5 separate regions of the Homo sapiens genome follow, and regions 1, 3, 4 and 5 are each linked to region 2. The links are contacts of gene promoters, found by promoter capture Hi-C in blood cells and fetal thymus (Javierre and others, 2016). All regions are on one chromosome and are shown on one strand. Each heading gives the region's core, a stretch centred on a gene start or on the middle of the fragment in contact. The rest is flanking DNA. Distances are from core to core; before and after follow the strand shown.

What was found. The method cuts DNA at HindIII sites, captures the fragments that hold promoters and counts their contacts. A CHiCAGO score of 5 or more calls a contact.
Region 1: a fragment that was not itself captured here is called in contact with the fragment with the promoter of FAM210A in region 2 in 2 of 17 cell types (naive CD4 T cells and non-activated CD4 T cells); the score reaches 6.8 in naive CD4 T cells.
Region 3: a fragment that was not itself captured here is called in contact with the fragment with the promoter of FAM210A in region 2 in 1 of 17 cell types (naive CD4 T cells); the score reaches 5.0 in naive CD4 T cells.
Region 4: a fragment that was not itself captured here is called in contact with the fragment with the promoter of FAM210A in region 2 in 1 of 17 cell types (activated CD4 T cells); the score reaches 5.6 in activated CD4 T cells.
Region 5: a fragment that was not itself captured here is called in contact with the fragment with the promoter of FAM210A in region 2 in 1 of 17 cell types (naive CD4 T cells); the score reaches 5.8 in naive CD4 T cells.

Annotation. Positions count from the first base shown.
Region 1 is chr18:13,371,778-13,374,493 of GRCh38, reverse strand. The region is part of intron 2 of LDLRAD4 (low density lipoprotein receptor class A domain containing 4); the gene reads right to left. Among named protein-coding and RNA genes, the nearest start is that of LDLRAD4-AS1, 54 kb to the left of the region's middle. The HindIII fragment of the contact is 611 bases long and covers 955-1,565 here.
Region 2 is chr18:13,725,202-13,727,947 of GRCh38, reverse strand. FAM210A (family with sequence similarity 210 member A) reads left to right here and starts at 1,390. Exons shown (of 4, transcript NM_152352.4): 1 at 1,390-1,619. RNMT (RNA guanine-7 methyltransferase) reads right to left here and starts at 1,275. Exons shown (of 12, transcript NM_003799.3): 1 at 1,219-1,275. RefSeq lists an enhancer at 1,287-2,212. The HindIII fragment of the contact is 3,253 bases long and covers 1-1,396 here.
Region 3 is chr18:13,464,151-13,466,850 of GRCh38, reverse strand. The region is part of intron 4 of LDLRAD4 (low density lipoprotein receptor class A domain containing 4); the gene reads right to left. Among named protein-coding and RNA genes, the nearest start is that of LDLRAD4-AS3, 5.5 kb to the left of the region's middle. The HindIII fragment of the contact is 3,094 bases long and covers 1-2,700 here.
Region 4 is chr18:13,264,138-13,266,837 of GRCh38, reverse strand. All of the region lies in intron 1 of LDLRAD4 (low density lipoprotein receptor class A domain containing 4), which reads right to left. Among named protein-coding and RNA genes, the nearest start is that of C18orf15, 26 kb to the right of the region's middle. RefSeq lists an enhancer at 365-927. The HindIII fragment of the contact is 1,318 bases long and covers 765-2,082 here.
Region 5 is chr18:13,283,824-13,286,523 of GRCh38, reverse strand. All of the region lies in intron 2 of LDLRAD4 (low density lipoprotein receptor class A domain containing 4), which reads right to left. Among named protein-coding and RNA genes, the nearest start is that of C18orf15, 46 kb to the right of the region's middle. RefSeq lists an enhancer at 1-208. The HindIII fragment of the contact is 5,261 bases long and covers 1-2,700 here.

The sequences.
Region 1 (2,716 bases), core at 11-2,510, 350 kb after region 2:
GGGCCCAAGAGGCTGCATTTCCAACCAGCTCCCAGGGGATGCTGATGCTGCTGGGGACCACATCTAATTAGTGAGATTCTAGACTCCAGGTTCTTTGGCTCTAGAACCTTCTCCACAGACCAACAATGGACAGACAGCCACTCCTGCATGAGAGCTTGCTCCCATCGGCAGCCTGCAGTCCATGACCCAGCTCTGGCCTCCACAGGAGACTGTGTGGGGTCAGGGCTGAGAGGGCTCCGGCCTCCATAGGAGCCTGTGTGGGGTCAGGGCTGGGAGGGCTCTGGCCTCTGCAGCATCCTCTGCTACCTGTGCTATCCCAAGAGACGACCTATGTGGGTCAGAAGGTAACAAAACAGCCAACATTTACGTGTAATTATCAGGGACACATGACATCACCTCCAAGTGTGATTTCTCTAAAAGGTAAAAGCAAATTCCACGTGGTTGAGGATCAAACGTACACATTTTTTCTAAATATTTCACACATTTCCACACGTTTGCATGGTGGAAATATGTGAAATATTTAGAAAATATTTATAAATGTAGACATATTATCAAAGAAGAATGGAACTGTACACGTGTCATTTTAAAAGAAATGAGAGAATTTTGGAAAACTCTGGAATTTATTATAAAAAATAACTAAGGTAGCTTTAAAATCCAGTCTAAATGAAAATGTACAAGGTAAAAGTATACTCCACGTTTCAGCTAAAAGTGTGCTGTGTCACAAAAAAGTAGCATTTATTTCTACACTGAACTGCAAAATACCACATAAACTGCCAGGTACTATTCAAAAGCAAGTTACTGATTTTCTATCCATTTTGCTTAAATATAAAAGGGGAGCTATTTCAGTTTGTTTTACTAAATACACTGTCTCCTTCAAAATGCATATATTAATCTCTGAAAATGAAAATATGAGCAAAGATCTCAACCATCAATCATTGAATTATAGTATAAGCTTACTTGAAAAAATAATCTTCTGATTCTAAAAATGCAAAAGAGGAAAAATCAATTATTTCATTAGTCAGCACACAAGCAACAAAGATAGCTAAGCGTTTCTGCACAATCCTATAACTGTGAGCAGCTAAAGAAAACATTGAACATACAGTCTGTGACGCACATTTTCATTCCACTGAAGCAAAAATACACATATATTTATACATATGTGTATAATGTCATACACAAACTTAAAAAAAGGCCATGAGTTGGTGTTGAGACCCAGTTGCTTTTTAGGTTCTCAAAGCGTATAAAGCCAGAGCGCTACAACTGCTGCGATGAGAAAAGGAAATCAAAACAAGGGATTTCTGCCTTTGCTCAAAAGACACACACACACACACACACACATTAAACAGTTGTGGTAGAGGATGCCAAAGGAGTGTGAGCTGTTAAGAGTTCCATTAAAAATGATAAAAATAATTGGGAATAAATACAGAGATGTGCTTACACCCAGCTCCACTGAAATCTGTTAGTCTGCGAGACCCTAGCCAGAAAATCCGTTGTTGATATTTATTGTGTACATGTGTTTACTTTGAGTTTACATGAAGACGCAACTGGAGCCCAGACAGCAAGCTTCCCACAAAGGCCCAGATGGTGAACGGTTCTGCACAGGCCATGCCGCCTCGGCCCCTGCTCCTCTGCTCTGCCGAGAAGACAGGGACGCAGCCCCAACAGACAACACACAAACACATGGTGTGGCTACATGCCAATAAAACTTTATTAACACAGACAAGCCCTGCCCAGGACATGGAGCATGAACATGAAGTGCTGAGTACCGGACCATACCCTCCTCATCTTCAGTGCAATGTCTTATTCAACTTCCATTCCACAGCTTCAGGGAAGGGAGGGGAAAAACCCTGCAGAGCTGGCCTCATTTCAGTTTCTCAGTCACCCTGGAGGAACCTCCAGGACACCCAGACGGCCTAGCATTCCCAGCACGCCCATCCCAGCTCTGTACAGCTGCCACCAATTAACATAAATAATTGCTTGTTGTGTGCTGTTTTGTTCTCTGTATTTTTCTTGCATTCATCTTGTCTCTTTCATTTCTTCTAATAGTTCAAGGGCAAGGTGTTTTTATTTGCATTTTCCCTTAGAATTTAGCTTAGTGTTCAGCAAAAGATACTGCTGACGAGCAAATCCTCTCTTCCTCTCAAAAGGTAGGTAAAAGTAAGGCTAACCAGGAAAAAAACTACACCACCTTTACGTGTACCCCCAAGGCAACTGTGGTAGAGAGGAACAACCTCCAGGTCTGCCCTGCGAAGAACAGGTGCACAGGGGTGTGGCTGCCAGCACTTCCTGAGGGCAGGGACCGGCCTTTCTGATGGCATGCCTGGCAAGGGCACACGGCAGTGCTTGGTGAATTCGACAATAGATCAAGTGTGATGAAATATATGGTAAACTAACCTTTTACATTTGAGCAGAATTATGGCATTCAGGAATTAAAACTGCTCTTAAATATCATCAACTTTAACTCACCGTCCCATGTAAGTAGAAACCATGGCTTGAGTGTCTCTAGACACTCAAGGGCTGGGTCCAGAGCACAGTAAAAGCAGGGTAAACCTAATGCTGTTCTAAATGTGATACAGAAACTCTTGCTATTTAAGGAATCCTATAATGAAACTTCCTTCATAAATAAAGACATGAATTAGTAAAAAGATGTTTGTTGCTAAATTCAGCAGTTCCTTGACTGTGGGTTCTCTTTTTCTCTTTCTCTCTCTCTTTCTCT
Region 2 (2,746 bases), core at 141-2,640:
ATATTAGTCATTAAAAAGAATGAAATCCTGTCATTTGCAACAACATGGATGAAACCGGATGTCATTATGTTAACTGAAATAAGCCAGGCACATGAAGACAATATCATGTTGTTACTCATGTGGGAGCTAAAAATGTGGACCTGATGGAGGTAAAGAGTGGATTGGTGGTTACCACAGACTGGGAAGGGTAGCAGGAAGAGGAGCGGGATGAAGAAGAGAAATTGGTTAATGGGTACAAAAAACCCCAGAAGAAATAAAATCTAGTGCCTGATAGTACAGTGGGGTGGACACAGTTAACAATAACTTATTGTGTAGTTCAAAATAGCTAAAAGAAAAATTGGAATGTTCCCAACATAAAGATAAATGTTTGAGATGACAAATATCCCAATTGCCCTGATTTAGTCGTTACACATTGTATGCATGTATCAAAGTATCACCTGCACCTGCAAATATGTGCAACTTCTATGTATCAATTTAACAAATTGGGGGAAAAAAAACCCAAACCAAACTCAAAGTGGAATAATGAAAACACTCCATAGGGAAGAGAGCTGTCCCTCAGAATCTTCAAGAAACCTTCGAAAGGTGGTCGACTGACATGGAGATGGACACGCGATAAATAACCACACGAACATTTCGACCCGGCTTTCCAGTCACACCTCCGAAGCAAGCTATGTCTCTGCGTCATTTCAGCTCCTCAGGGTACGAGCGAGCAGGCCGCCAGGGCCGCCGGGATAAAGCCCAAGCGGGATAAGCTCTAAGTCCCGACCCGCCCGCTTGACCCTCTACCACGGGGCCCGAGAGGACGCACAGAGGCGAGAAGGGACTTCTCCAGCCAAGTTCACCCCCTCCGTCATTAGCGCGGCCTGTTACTCAACCTCTGGTTCAGGTTTCCGAAGCGCCGCTGAAGACAAACCTGCGGACCCCACGCCCCTCCCCAGCACGGCCCTGGGGCGCGAGCTGGAGCAGCTCTTCGAGCTGCTTCTCCCACCCGGGCTCGCCCAGTCTGGAGGAGGAACAGCGCCCGCCCACCCCAAGGAGTTCCCATTTTCCTTGGGACTGAGGACACAAGGCAATAGACCCACGCGTTGGGTAGTGAAGCACAGGGCTAATGCGAAGTGAGCCCATGTCAGGGGTGGGAGTGCCAGTTCCACCCCTCCACGGCGGCCGAGGGACAAACACAAAGAAAGGAAGGGCCGGAGTTCCAGCCGTCACACTCACCAGCACAGCCAAACGCGATTCTGTTTGCGGAAACGGCGGCCCGCGCCACGCGTGTCTGCTTACGTCACTTCCGGAGGTGCGAGAGTCACGTGGAGACGGTCAGGCGAGAGTGCCGCGACGCACGTCCTCCGCGCCGGAACTACGAGTCCCGACGTGCCGCGCGCGGCATGCAGAAGCTTCACTGAGCGGGCACTGGAGGTCGCGAGCACGTTGCTAGTGGGCGCGGCTGGCGGGGCCGGGGGCGGCAGGGGGCTAGCGTCCGGCTGAGCCCGGCGGGTTCCTGCACGCGGACCCACGCTTTGTCGGGCTGCTCTGCTGAGTGACACCGCCGTGGCATCCGAGGAGCTGTGGTCCAGCCTGCGCGGCGGGAAGCGGCGGCGGCGGCTCCAGCGTCCTAAGAGGTAGCATGGGCCCAGGCCTCTGTGGGGCAGCGGGAGGGGTCTAGAGGGCACCTTCAACCCTGGGCGTGTGTCCGGGAGCTGACTCGCGGCGCGAACCCGGCAACTGCTCCGCGTGCGCCGCTCTTCGGGCTGTGGCAGTGTACGACTGCCAGACGGGTCGTCCACACTCGCCGACCCCACAGACCCCGGCGGCCGAGAGAGGTCCCCCCGCCCTTCCGGGTCGAGCCAGTGTCCTGGCAAATCTTGCTTTGGGACTGTTTTTCAGCCTCCTTTGCTGTAACCCTTCACCGTGTTCTCCCCCCTTCTTCCGAAGCCAGTTGAAGAGGGGCCCGGAAGCGCCCGCGTTCGGAATGGTTTTTAAAATTAGCAATTTCTTATTAGGGACTGGCAGACTGGTCCTTACCGCCGTGTTTGGGAAGCCACAAGAGGCCATTCTTACCTGTTAGATTCTGAGAAAAGGGACCGCCTATACCTCTTCTTGACAAATACCTAAGGATGCATTAGTCTGCGTTGGCTGAACTTGGCATGGTGTGGTTTGGGGGAGACAACACACTTTTTTTGGCCATCACCCCAGATTTCTACTGGGGAGTGAAAGCGCCTACTGTACTGAAACTCGAAAGCTCCATAGTTGAGGACTTTCAACCTGAGATCAGGGTCAAAACTACCTGTGGATAGATTATTGAAGCGTGTGCATATTAACGTCGTGCGTCAAGTCCCCACCTTCCAAGGTTGTAAAACTGATCAGATTTACAATCCGTCTTGAATTACTCTTTACCAAAATTGATCCATTTAAAACAGCTTTGAAAATGTGCTTTACCAGCCTTCCTTCTTGTCAGTAGGCACAGGTATATTAATGAATAGACCTGGCTTTGGGGAAGGCAGCATTTGCAGCGTTGTGCTTTCCAATCTAATCACTTCTAAATTGTGGGCATTAGCCCATTTGAGGTTACAAACTTTGAACCAAGAATGAGGCCTATTTTTCACAAATAAGGATGACCCATCAATTTCTGATGACTGCTTGTATTTGTTATTATATGAAATGAGGTAAGTTGAGAATTAATCTCATTACATGAATATTGACAACTGCAAAAGTGTAGGTCTTACAGATCGAATGCATTATAGGCATA
Region 3 (2,700 bases), core at 86-2,585, 260 kb after region 2:
CCCCTTCCACCATGTGAAGATATAACAAGAATGTTCCATCTATGAACCAGGAAACAGGCCCCCACCAGACACAGAATCTGGTGGTGCCCCGATCTCAGACTTCCGACCTCCAGAACAATGAGAAATAAACCTCTGTTGTTTACAGGCCACCTCGTATATGGTATTTTGTTAGAGGCACCCAGCTGGACGAGGACATGCCTTTTATCTTGTTGAAGAAGTTCCTTCTATTTCTAGGTTTTTGTGTGTTTTTATAATCAAAGAAGGTTAAGAGTTTGTCAAATGCCTTTTCTGTGTCTATTGAGAAGATCTCATTTTTTTTCTTTCATTCTATAAATGTGGTATATTATATTGTTTGATTTTCCTTTTTTTTTTTTTTTTGGTGAAACAAGGTCTCACTCTGTGACCCAGGCTGGAGTGCACTGGCATGATCACAGCTCACTGCAGCCTCAACCTCTTAGGCTCAGGTGATCCTCCCACCTCAGCCTCCCAAGTAGCTGGGACCAAAGGGACCCGCCACCACCCCCAGCTAATTTTGTATTTTTTGTAGAAACAGGCTTTTGCCATGTTGCCCAGGTTAGTCTTGAACTCCTGGGTTCAAATGATCTGCCCACCTCAGCCTCCCAAAGTGCTGGGATTACAGGCCTGAGCCACCGTGCCCAGGCCTGATTTTCTTATGTTGAACAATTCCATTATCCCTGAAAGAGACAACTAATTGCAAACTATGTGTTACTATATGAAAATTATGCTCGGAGCACCATTTTAAAGATTACTTCATTATTTCATTCAAGATATATTTATTTTGCACCCAGGCATTATTTTGAGCACCGAAGGCACAGCCTGGACTAAACAGTTATCTCTGCCCTCCTGGAGTAACACTCTGAGAGGAGAGACAGATAGTAAGTGAGACAGGTAAAATATATAGTTAGTGATAAGGAAAATAATATGGCAAAAAAGGGGGAGAGAGTATGAAGAGGCTGAGATTCTAGACAAGAGAGGCCTAACTTACAGCATTACGGTTTATACACATGTCCACAACTCAGCATTGCTTTCAAAATAGGAACACTTTATTAGTAAAGAGGAAGAAATTGCCTAAACAGACTCAGTGTCTTTCCCATAACAATCATCTGCCAAGCCGCAGGCCTAACCAGGAAATCCCATTTCCTTTTGGCGTTGTGTCCTCCACCAACAGATACAACCCTGATGCCAAATGTTGTATGGTTTGTAGGTGTTGTGAGCCAATGAGGGCATGCCCAGGGCCAAAGGCTGCCCTTTGGAATGAGGGCAAGGTCGTAGACTCCATCAAACAACAAATGCATCCTCCTCCAAAATCAAATGCTCAACACATGCAGCCTTTCGTATGCCCATCTCCCCTTTACTCATTTTCATGGCTGAAAATCATCAGGATGGGCATTTGTCCATAACTCCTACAGGTTAATTTCCTGACATGATATGAGCCTTTAAGAAGTTATAAAGGGTTACATCATCTTTTCATTTCTGACACCAATATACTAACAGAACTTGAACACAGCCATCTGACCTTCAGAATCAATGAAACACGCAGCCTGAGAATAAAGAGAGGGCGTGCTGTTTGGTAACCTGACTTCAACACCTAAGCAACCACTAAGTGTGCCTGAGCCGATGCACAGAAATAAAAGGAAAATAAAGTCAGATTTTAAAAGCCAGATGTTATGCAGGTTAAACACAACCTCATTTAAATTCCGAAATCACAAGATACTTACTAACAGCGATGGAGCCGTGAACAGAGCACTCCCTGGAGAGGCCCCCATTTAGCTCTGCGGCCTCGCGCCATCGTTTCCGGTGGGCAGCACCCCTCTTGGCTCGCTCCCTTCCTCCCGGCTCCTGCCACAGCAGACAGGAAGCACTGTGTGAGCAACAGGAAACCTGCACTTCCTTGTCTTGTGCACCGGCCAACCAATTAGCATGTCACCATGAGGGGCAGATGCACATGAATATGGAGCACGGAGCCTCATTTTTCTGTTCAGTCTGTCAAGCCATGAATTCACTCATCCCATTTTGTCCTAAAACCTTGGGGTGGGGGTGGGGGTGGGGGCTGAAGGGAAGGAGGGTTTCAAAAGCCCCATCTACAGCGATGTGAAAAAAAAAAAAAAAAAAGTCAGGCTCTGTCAGCCCTAAAGGGCATTTCTAAGAGCAATGGCACCATCTTTCCACATTCAGGTGCACTTCCCTGTGGAAGGTTCTAGACACACGGTGGCCCCTCAAATTATTCCCTGTGGCAGACAGTGGTATTGTCACATCTGCTATCCACTTGTGTAAAGAAAAAGGAAGACCTGATCTAAGAGTTTTGAGGCTGAAAGATATAGCAGGTATAACCAGATATTTAATATGAAAAACCCAAGTATCTAAATGAGATTATTAGTTGACATAAGCTCCGATAAAGGTACAGAAATGAAAATATGCAATGCCTAATTCTACTGATCAGATTAGAGCAATTTCTATAGAAAATTACTATTCTTTGCTCACAACACAGTTTAAAGCAATGTAAACACATCCCTATTGCTACTGTGCCCAAATACTTCTCTGCTGAGCTATTAGCCATCGTTTCATTTTATAAAAACCATAATAGAAAATGTGGCCAAACAGATAGATGGAGTGTTCCCAGCAATATGGAGAAACAGTTGTGTTTATGCAGAGATTAGTCTTTCAAATTGAGAGATCTCC
Region 4 (2,700 bases), core at 174-2,673, 460 kb after region 2:
GTGACTTGCCACCTCTGAGGCTGTGACTGAAACTGTAACTTACACTCGGAAGGCAGCTCCAAGGGTAGTGTGGGGACAGGACTCCAGGGATCTGCCCACGGGTCTGGCCAGGACTGCGGTGCTGGGCTTGCTTCAGAGCAGTTCCCTCTCCTCCACGGAGAAGCCATCGCCAGGCAGCGCCTGAGCGTGGAGGCCCTGCGGCAGCCTGCCTTCTGCCTAAGACGGTCACTATGCCAATTCAAAACAAAACAAAACATAACTGATTCCCAGCTGTGCCCAGTCCAAGCCCAAATCTGGAGAAGGCAGCCACCAGAGACCCTCGGAATCCTCCCGCCTCTGGACACCTGAGCCCCATGCCAGAAAGGAAAGGAAAGCCAAGCCCAGGGTTGGGTGCCTTCCTCAGCGGGCTGTGTCTGTTGTCCCCGAGACTGCTCCTGCCCACATCTGGCCACGGACCCAGTGCGAGGTACCAGGAGTTGTGCAGGAGGAATGAAGCCACGCCCTGCCCTCGAGGAGCTCCCAGGCTAGCTGTGAATGCAGGGCTGGAGGGCAGAGGGCTTATGCGGACTCTGTAGCAAAATGATCTTCTGTGTTCCTGGGTCCACAGGAAGAAGTCGGGGGAGCCCTAAAAACAAGCCCCGAAAAAGCCTTTGTTTTTAAGGTCTGGGCGAGTGCTACTCACTGTCCAAACTACAGAACAACCGTGTCAAGGAGCCCGCCATTCTTGCTAAAACACACGTTCACTGCCAGGCATCATCTAAGCTTCTGAGTCAGAATCTCTTGGGGTGGAGTCCAGGAATCCGTATTTTTAACAAGCTCCCCAGATAATGCTTAAACATATCGATGCTTAAAACCAGAGCTCTAAACCTAGATCGAGCAGATCCACGTGGGGGTGAGGAGGAGGCTGAGTGCTCAGGGGTGGGAGGAGAAGAGGGACCCACCCAGGGGAGGGCAAAGACCTCAGGAGTAGTGAGGAGGGGGCTGAGGAAGACCCCTGGAGGCCTGAGCTGTGTGCAGCAGAGTGGAGTCCCAGGGCCACCCCAACAGGAGATGACTTCAGCAGACCTTGAAGAAGATCTCAGCACCAGGCAAGCAGGACCCATGGCCAACGAAGCCCTGGGGAGTGGGGCCAGGTGTGACTGAGTGACAAGTCCTCGGAAACGTGCCTGGGGAGGACAGTCCCCAGATGACTGATATCAGCCACCCCATCTTTCTCAGTGAGTCAGGGATCAAAGGAGATTTATTTCTCAAGAAAAATGAAGAGATGTGGCACGCCTTGCTCCTGGGTGCATGGAGCTATTCATCCCTGTCACACGTTTTGACAAATTGCGATGAGCCCAGAAAAGGGCTCACCTGGGCAGCTGACATTTGTGCTGCAGGACAGAGAAAGCCATGCTCCAGGCAGCACAGTGGGAAGGGGGAGGGCTTCGAGTGTCCCCGGAGGAACTGAGTGAAATGGGGGCTGGAGACAGAGACCCCGTCCAGGCCACACAGGTAAGTTTGGCGTTGACCTTCAAAGCTACGCAGTGACAGGTCAGCCCTGCCACTAGGTGGTAAGGCGGTTCTCAGAACGAGGTCCTAGACCAGGAGTTTGGAAGGCGCAGGGAAGGATATGAGGAGGGGAGAGACGGCAGAGGCTGGAGGCAGGGCAGTCTGTTCAGAGGCTGTTGCAAAAGTCCAGGCAAGAAATGTTGAGAATTGAAGGCAGTGACCACAGCGGGAGGAAAGGAGCCATGTGGAAAACACTTAGAAGGTAGAATCACAGGCCTTGGCGACACAGTGGATGGATCAGGGAGCCAGGAGGGGGTCAGAACAGCACCAGGTTCTGGCTTGGGCAACTCAGCTTTAACTCAGGTAAAAGAAAAGAGAGAGCTCTTATATAATTTTACAGATCAATTTGCCAACGTCTTCCTCAACCTTGAAATACTGGAGTCTGTTTATAGGCCAGTTGCGAATCCTCCAGGTTCGGGAAGACTGTACTTGAAACGCTTTTATGAAACAGCACAGTTGTGAAATGCACCCATATGCTTTCTCCAGACACATTCTTCAACTACTCTTTTCAGCAATGCATCTCAGAAAGCTTCATCAACAAAATCAATCCAGATTCAGAATCCTGGAAGAAGGGAGAGGCTACGCAGAATCACCTCACACAGTCCAAAGAACAGCCATTTGCAGAGAAAAGCACAAAACCGTCTTCAACCTGCATGGCAGTCCCACATGGGAAGGAAGCACAGGACAACATCTACTCCGAAAAACAGGCTAGCGGCTTCCCTGCCAAGAATGCCATCACCTAAGCAATCGGGCTCAGAATATCTACACAGAGAAGTCAACTCCCCATTAGCTAAACTCATAAAGGGACACTGTGGAATTGAATGATGGTGAATACTTCAGAAACCATTCGTTCCTGGCTTTCTAAGCATTTTCCTGCACACTGTTGAACATTGGCCAAGCAACTGTCTAACGGTCTGCAGACACCCTTTGGAAAGAGCAGCAAGGCCTGCTCTGAGGATAACTCGGGGGCGGGGCTGGGAAGCCCTCCAGGTCTGCAGCCCCAGCTTCACTGGCCGTTGACGTAAAGCAGCCGCCTGGCAGGGCCACCTCCTCAAAGGACCCATCCTAGCCACTCAGGTCCATCCCGCAACCAGCCCCCACTCGCTCTTTCAAACGGTACCCACCCACCCACTCAACCAACTGCTCAAC
Region 5 (2,700 bases), core at 109-2,608, 440 kb after region 2:
GACACACACCTGTATTCCCAACTACTCAGGAGGCTGAGGCAGGAAGATTGCTTGAACCAGTAAGTTGAGGCTGCAGTGAGCTATGATTGTGCCACTGCACTCCAGCCTGGGTGGCAAAGCAAGACCCTGTCTCTAAAAATAAATAAATAACAAAACTCTATAGTTTGACCCTAACTTTCTTTTCCAACTGTATCTCTAGCTCTCGTCTTCCTGTTCCAAGGACAACATAATATGAGTCAGCTTTAAAATGGAAGGAGATTCTGAGATAGGCTCCAATGTGTGTGAACCCTGAAGACTTTATGCTAAGTGAAATACACTAGACACAAAAGGACAAATACTGCATGATTCCACTTATGAGGTATGTAGAGCAGTCAAAATCATAGAGACAGAAAGTAGAACCATGGGTGTCAGCGGCTGGAGGGAGAGGGAATGCAGAGTTAATGTTTAATGGGTACACAGTTTTGGTTTGGGAAAATGGAGAGAGTTCTGGAAATGGATGGTGGTGATGGTTGCACAACGTGAATGTACTTAATGCCACAGAACCGTACGCTTAAAAATGGTTAAAATATACTGTTTCCATAGCAACTGAACCATTTTACATTTTTTCCAGCAACACAGAAGGGTTCCAACTTCTCCACATTATGTATATCTTACCACAGTTTTTTTTAAAGGGACAAAAAGTTTGAGAAACAAAGTTAACAGTGTGCTGTGAAAGCTGAGTTGAAGGACTGGCTTGAGTTTCCCCCACCATTCTCTAACAAGGGTGCAGCCTTGACTTCCCTACCACAACCCCCGAGTTTCAAGAAAGACATGGAAAAATGTGGACAGCCCCAGCAAACCAGATCCCAGGACAAAAAGAGGGAAACTGTTAAAGCGTCAGGCTAAGCAGACAGACCCCAGACCCCTTGTGCACAGCGGAACCCTCTCCCAAGCACTGAGCTCACTAAGCTAACCCAGCATCGCCACGAAGCCTCCTGCAGGAAGCACGCCAACTTTAAAATATTATATGAATTTCAAGAAGAAAGCCTACAAAGGAAAAGCCCAGCAGACACCTCCAATGGCCCCCATGTTAAGTTACACAATTGACAACAGAATCCTGTCCCCTGACTGTCCTCGGCAAGCCTGTCCATGTCACCCTCTGCCCACTCATGACACCTCCAATCTGACCATCACTGAAGTGACTGCCCCAAGCCAAATGAACCACACACCTTGTGCTCCACTGCAAGTGCTCTTAACCCTTTCTGGAGGTCAAAACCCTCCTGAGAATCCTATCAAAGCCCTGGCATTCTCCCCAGGAACTGGCAACATTTCAAGGAATTCACAGATGCCCCTGGGCCCCTGGGGCTTACAAACACTGTCCCAGTGCCTGTCTCCTTCACATTTCGCTTCTGTACTGCACTTGAGAGGGACGCTGCAACCTCCCTCCATTTGTAAGAACTATATAACAAATTTCAAGAATCCCTCAGGACTCTCTTTGAAAGGGCAGCCCACGCCCCCAACCAATGTCAGGACGTCAAGGGGAGGTCGTCTCACATCGGCTTGAGAGGCACAGCCCGTCCGACATGCCACATCCCCAAAGGACGCCCCTCCCTGCGACTGCCCTCACAGATGCACTGATGTGACTTATGGGGACTGCTGCGATGCAGTCTGTTAACACTGGCACCAGCTGCCACGGGCGAGTCATCTCAGGAACCTGACCTTGGCAAAGCGTGTTTCACACTCGAGCACAGCTCATCCGGGTGGCCTCGAGCAGGGGCAGGAAGGCGGAAAACGGACAGGGAGGTGCTGGGGTGCACTGCCCCCCAAACCGCACCAGAGGACTCACCTCACCCACACAGGGAGACCAAATCCTCAAAGCCAAATTTTCAAGCTGCTGCTGAGAATCCCATAAAAAGCAATGCTATTTCTAACCTCCCGCACCACGGAAAAATACACACACCACCAAGCAACCCAGAATCTGAGGGTTTATTTTTACATCTTTTCCCCACATCCCCCACCCTGGCCTCCCCCACAAAATTTTAGGTGGAAAATTTGCTGGCTTTTTAGCAGTTTGACAATGCTGTGCTAGGCATGAACTGACGGAGCTGCTAGCGCATTTGAGTTTAAAGCAAAGCGTCAAAGTATTTATCCCATATGACTCCACAGGTCTGCTTGATGAGAAACTAATAAACTCTAATCACAGAAGACAGAATCCAACAAGCAGGCGGAGACGAGGCCCAGGTCTCAGGCCATGGGCAGAAGTGGCAGAGGTGGTAAGTTTCTCTTTCCCACCTCTGAAAGTGGTGTTCCCACCACGGGACTTTCTTCCTGCGGGCTGGCATTCTCTAATCCAAACTATGAACAAGGGCATTCGGCATCCCTGATGCCCTTGCTGCATTTCTGATTTTCTCAATGCCACTCTTAACCCTTGATTTGGTTTGGCTGTGTTGCCACCCAAATCTCAACTTGAATTGTATCTCCCAGAATTCCCACATATCGTGGGAGGGACCCAGCGGAAGGTAATTGAATTATGAGGGCCTTTCCTGTGCCATTCTCGTGATAGTGAATTAGTCTCACGAGATCTGATAGGTTTGTTTCTGCTTTTGCTTCTTCCTCATTCTCCCTTGCTGCCGCCCTGTAAGAAGTGCCTTTTGCCCTCAGCCACGATTCTGAGGCCTCCCCAGCCATGTGGAACTGTAAGTCCAATTAAACCTATTTTCT